Regions from separate parts of the Homo sapiens genome. Here region 2 is linked to region 1. The links are contacts of gene promoters, found by promoter capture Hi-C in human tissues and cell types (Jung and others, 2019). All regions are on one chromosome and are shown on one strand. Each heading gives the region's core, a stretch centred on a gene start or on the middle of the fragment in contact. The rest is flanking DNA. Distances are from core to core; before and after follow the strand shown. Region 1 holds the start of DUOXA1 (dual oxidase maturation factor 1). Region 2 has its middle 33 kb from the start of TERB2.

Region 1 (3,191 bases), core at 389-2,888:
CCTCCAGCCTTCTTCATTCAAAGTTATGTGCTAACGTCTTGTGGCCTCTCTTGTAGCCTGACAGGACTTTTTTCCTGAAGTCTTCCCCCTTGCCCACCTCCCCCATCTGCTGGAAACTATAGAGTAAGGGCCACTAATTCTCCACAAGTGGGGAGTGGGTGACATGGCTGGAGTTGCCAAGACCTCTGATTGGTAATGCACAGCTACTGCAATGTGATGCTTTTTTCTCTGATTGGGGTAGACCCCATTAAACGTTTACAGCTGTGGCTAGCTAAGGGGACCCTGTCAGGAACTCCTGTGCTAGACTTTCCTCTTCAAGGAAGGGGTCTGTGTGTACGTGTGTATCTGTGTATGAATGTATATGTGTGTTGTTGCACAAAAATAGGAGTTAAGTGGAGAAATTGAACAAGATCTGAAAAGTGGATTGGAGGCAGGATTCCCCAGTAAGGGCTGATGTGGATAAGGAATTCAAGGGTGCAGAATCATGCAAGCCAAAGTATCCAGACTCGAGTTAAACTGGGATGGCGATTCGATGTCTATAAACCTTGTGGCATTTATGGCCTTAAGAGGTTTTCCTTGCCTCCCCAGTTTCTTACCAAACTCTCTCTTTGAAGAACTCCCACTTGATCCGAACTTGGTCTGGATGAAAGCAGGAAGTGCAGCCCTAGGTGCCAGGGCGGGAGCAAGCACTTCAAGACCCCCTCCAAAATCACCTGGACCGCACAGATCTAAGCAGCCGCATCCCCCACCACCCACACCCGGACCACTATTCCCTACCTTCCCCTCTTCCAAACAGTGCGTGTGTGGCAGCCTGCGCCTCTCGCCTTCCCCCGTGGAACCTCACACGAAGCGCCCCCGGGGGTGTGATTAAAGAGGGAACCAGGTCCCGACGTTCTGTGAACAAACGCGCGCCCTTACTCTCAGTGGGGCTCCCGTCCGACCCCCACTCCTCTCCTAACTCACGTAAGGACCCGGCTGTGACCGGACAAACCGGGTCTGGGGTGCTTCCAGTCACTCTTCAAGTCACTCCCAAACTTCTCAGACTGCACCCGAGGCTCTGCGGCGCCGCCTCCCTCTCCCGGCCTGGTACAGAGAAGGGCTGGGTGCGCCAGGACAGTAGTACCGGGGTCTGCCAGCTCCGCAGAGGTCCCTCCAATCCCCCCTCCTCCTCTGCGCCCCCCCACCCATGCCCAGCAATCCCAGCAGCTCCAGCGCAAACCTAGCGACGCAGTTCCGGGTCTGGCGGGGCGCGGGCGCGGCTCGCAGGGCGGTGGGACCCCCAAGACCTCACGAGGATCCCCGGAGGGAGACGTGACTCCGGGGTCTTAGAGGGGTTTAGGTCGGATGGGTGACTTGCTTTGACGCCTGGCCTGGTCTGTGGGTGGCAGGTGATCGATGGCCTTGGACTTGGAGCCCAGACCCGACGGTGTCGAGAGGATCTGAGGAGAGTCTCCCCTCCCCATACCCTCTCCGCCTCCCACCCTCTCCCCAGCCCCATGGGACTTGTGAAGGCGGACTTGCTTTTTTCGCCGTCCACACAACCGCACTAGCCGGGCCTTCGGCACCGACGGAACATCTCTACCTGCGCCCCGGGAGCCCTCGCCGTCTCACCTCGCGCGCTGCCGTCCGCTGGAAGCACCTCCGCGCCTCCCCAGGCGCCAGACTCCATCCCGCCCCACTGCGCCCCGCCCCGTGGCTGAGCCGAGCCGGGCCGTGCCTTCCCCTCCTCACCCCCAGCCCCGCCCGTCCCGGCGCAGAGCTGCAGAGGCACCGGACGAGAGAGGGCTCCGCGGGCCCAGCTGGCAGCCAGGCCGGAGACAAGTTGCAGTCCCGGGCTCTGGTGACGCCGTGGCCGCAGGTCAGATTTGGGAGGGCTTTTCCCGGCCCGCGGGCCTGGGCGCTCCGGGGGAGGGAGCTCCAAGGGCAGGGTGGCGGGGGAGCCGCAGCTCCTCCACGTTATGGAAGAAAGGGGAATGCTAGCCCCCTGCGCCTCCGATCTTATCCTAAGGCTAAAACCGGTCCTGTTAGGGCCTGTCCTCTGCCCAATCAAGGTTTTGAGAGACTGGGTTCTTTGGGACCTGGGAATGTTGGGTGGCCTAGTTTGCCTGGGCCTGCGGGTTCTTCTCCTGGCACCAGCACAACATACCAGGGAGGGAGCTTTGGGCTTTAGGATCCAAGCTTTCCCCCTCAGCCCTCCCTTAGGACCAAGATGGCCTTGACCCATCTTCCTCCCACCTCAGGGCCACCAGGGTCACCACTCTAGGGCTTCAGGCTGGAAAAGCAGCCATGTGGGGCAAGAACAGGCAGGCCTGTGTTCTCTCTCTGGTTCTGCCGCTGGCTCTGCCTGGGGCTTCACTGCCCTGTCCTGGGCAACCTTCCTGTCAAGGTTGTTGAGAAGTTACTGCCCCATCGTTGTGTAAATCATTAAGGGCAACCCACCCACAAGGAGTGGTTATTAAGCATGTCCACCTTCCTCTTCAGGTCATCCCCACACAGCCTGGTCTGAAAGCCCATTTCATGCCCTTAGGGGCTGAGTGGTACATTAGCGTTGAGGCCCAGGATCCTGAAGACATGGTGGTGGCGGGGGAGGGGAATGACATCTTGGGATCAGGGAAGGACCGCTGTGGCTACTTCCGTATATCCAGCTTTACAGCTTCAACCATCCAGAGCCCAGCTCTTCATGCACTATTAAAGGCCAGCACCTGGACAGACTCTGTGAAATGCAGCAGGTGATACTGAGCTTTCCAGTTATGGCAGGGCCTAGGTTTTTTCATTTAATAGGAGATGGAGTAGGGATGAGGTCACTCCCTGGGTTCTCTCCTCTAGACAACCCATCCAGGAACCCTGATGTTTGGCTGGGGATGAGGCTTTCCCTGAGCTCCTTTCTTCCTCTATCCTAACCCCAATCTCCAGGTTGCCTTCAGGAGGTCTTCGCCGGCTTTAGGTACTCCTTACTCGCACTCAGGAGTCCCAGCCTGAGTCCTCTGCTGCCTCTGTTTCCCTGTTGACTCTGGGTGGAGAGAGAGAGAGCAGGAAGCTTGCACTAAATACATGAGCACCTGGTAGTGCATCCCTTCTGGATCCAACCAGAGGAGACAAGCTCCCGCCTACCCTCTCTATATCACATTTGCCCAACACCTGTCACTTGCTTTGAATTAAACCTCCTTCTCACATTTGATTCTGGCAACCAT
Region 2 (2,748 bases), core at 98-2,597, 140 kb before region 1:
TTTGGTGCTCTGCACATACTGAAAACAAAATTAATATTGTTGATTTAACTGCCAAAGCTGGAGCACATAAGGATCATTAAGTGCAAAGAATACTGATCAAACAGAACAAGCTCTACCTCCTTATTTGCCAACCCCTAGAAGTTGAAATGGTGACAGGGGTGAGTTGAAAAGGAAGAAGTTTAGTTTTACCTTCTAAAGGTCAGCCTGTCTGTTGTCTGGTACAGGTAGAGATTACAACAATAACCCTTCAGGAAAACATTACATTTTGTCCCATGAAAAATAAACAGCATTTTGTCCATGCGTCACATACTAGTCTTTCTGGCATGATGGACTGTGGTTAAACTCAGCATATCCTGGGAATGGGTAGGAGAGGGACATCATTGAGTAGGAGAAAGTGAAACTGGGAAATGAACTGTGGAGAAAGAGATCTCCACAGGGTCAGTGACAAGTATTCAGAATGATCATGGGAAAAAGCGTAGTGTGGAGGAAAAGGGGGGCCGTGGAAGTGACTGAAGTTCAGACTGCATTCTGGGAGATGAAAGAAGCAAACAAGGGCACAGCACTAAGGAAGGAGAGGAGAAGGAGTTTGAGTTATACAAGATGTTCTCTGAAAAATGAAAGATACCAGAAGTGGCCATATTAAAAACCATCTCATAATGGACCTGCTTTACTTCAGAAGGGATAAGTGCTAGTATTTGCTAAGTCTGAGAAGTCACCATCACAGTCTTGTCATGATGAAGCATGCAGTGGCCACCCCAGAAACCTGAATCACCAAAGCTTCCTTTCCTCACCTCATTGCCATATAAACTGACTAGACTGGGATGGGAGAAAAAGATGGAGGCTTAAAAATATCCTCTCCAGCATCACCCAGGCACTAAGGGCAGTGAGGTGGCCAAGGTCCCATTTCTAGGGCTTTTAGATTTCCATTGATACCGCTCTAGGGGATTTGATGGATGTGCTTGTTGGCTCATCATGTCATCCCCTTTCCATAGGCACATCTGTAAAAATGTCACCAGAAGGTGGCCCAGTGAGCAGGAAACCCCAGGGGTGGGGTACGGGAGGCTCCATGGTTCTAATGGCTGATGCCACCCTGCTTCACTGGCCTGATGCCTCCATGTCTGTTATTAGGGTGTTCCTACTGTGGGGATTGGCACATTGTTTTCGTCCTATGTTATTATGCAACCGATTAGGTTGAGACTTAACCTAATCCGGTGCAGTCCAGTTCCTATTTTCCAAAGATGACAGTATACCCAGGCCACTTAAATTTGATCTGGGTGTTGGTGAGACTATTACACACCCACAAATAATCCAATAATCTCTTTGGCTGTGTCATTTCTACTGGTGTCTAACCTCATCCTTTTTATTTGGGTCCCATTGATTTATATTCTAAGTTTTAGGGATACTTTGGGGTGTCATCCCAACATATTGCCTGTATAAATACTGTCTCCTTAATTCCACAATTGAACATTACAGAGAGTTAGTGTTATTCTTATTTTACGTCTGAAAAAAATGGACACTAACAGGTTTGGTAACTTGTCCAAAATCACGTAGCTAGTAAATTCTAAGAATTGTGATTCCAGGCGGGCGCGGTGGCTCACGCCTGTAATCCCAGCACTTTGGGAGGCTGAGGCAGGCAGATCACGAGGTCAGGAGATCGAGACCATCCTGGCTAACACGGTGAAACCCCATCTTTACTAAAAATACAAAAAAAAAAATTAGCCAGGTGTGGTGGCAGGCGCCTGCACTCCCAGCTACTCAGGAGGCTGAGGCAGGAGAATGGCGTGAACCCAAGCAATGGAGCGTGCCGTGAGCTGAGATTGTGCCACTGCACTCCAGCCTGGGCGACAGAGCGAGACTCTGTCAAAAAACAACAACAACAACAAAAAAGAATTGTGATTCCATCTCTGATCACTCTGGTTTTAAAGTTCAGTCTTTTCCTACATAATGCTGAAGTGACCGGGAAAAGTCAAGCTTCTAAATTGGCAATTCAATTGGGAATTTACTATTATGGTCTGTGATGATGACATCTTATATCATGTACAACAGTGGATCAAACCTGACTGCACATCAGATCATGTTGTTGAGCTTTTAAAAACTATACATGCTTGGCGAGGTGTGGTGGCTCATACCTGTAATCCCAGCACTTTGGGAGGCCGGGCATATCACCTGAGGTCGGGAGTTCAAGACCAGCCTGACCGACATGGAGAAATCCTGTCTCTACTAAAAAATACAAAAAATTAGCTAGGCATGATGGCACATGCGTGTAATCCCAGCTACTCGGGAGGCTGAGGCAGGAGAATAGCTTCAACCTGGGAGGCAGAGCTTGGGATGAGCCAAGATCGTGCTATTGCAATTCAGCCTGGGCAACAAGAGCAAAACTCCATCTCAAAAACAAACAAACAAACAAAAAAACAAAAAACTATACATGCTTTGAATGTATTAATACAATTAGATTTGCTAATATTTTGTTCAGAATTTTCACATGTATGTTGATGAGAGAGATCATCCTGTAATTTTCCTTTCTTGTAATGTCCTTGTCTGTTTTGGATATCAAGGTTATGCTGGCCTCATAAAACAAGTTATAAAGTGTTCTCTTCTCTCTCTTTTTTTTTTTGGCAGTGACAGGGTTGCACCTTGTTGCGCAGGCTGGTCTCAAACTCCTTGGCTCAAGGGATCTACCAGCCTTGGCCTCTCAAACTGCTGGGATTATAGGCATGAGCTACTGCACCTGGTTCTTCTCTTCTTTTT

Evidence for each region. Contacts are between HindIII fragments. The study calls those that stand out against the background at their distance.
Region 2: a contact is called between a fragment that was not itself captured here and the fragment with the promoter of DUOXA1 in region 1, in 1 of the 25 tissues and cell types used here (spleen).

Annotation. Positions count from the first base shown.
Region 1 is chr15:45,128,241-45,131,431 of GRCh38, forward strand. DUOXA1 (dual oxidase maturation factor 1) reads right to left here and starts at 1,639. Exons shown (of 9, transcript NM_001276266.2): 1 at 1,612-1,639; 2 at 1,220-1,375; 3 at 778-894. DUOX1 (dual oxidase 1) reads left to right here and starts at 1,754. Exons shown (of 34, transcript NM_175940.3): 1 at 1,754-1,858. The HindIII fragment of the contact is 11,393 bases long and covers 1-2,607 here.
Region 2 is chr15:44,988,004-44,990,751 of GRCh38, forward strand. No RefSeq gene overlaps it. Among named protein-coding and RNA genes, the nearest start is that of TERB2, 33 kb to the left of the region's middle. The HindIII fragment of the contact is 3,284 bases long and covers 1-2,748 here.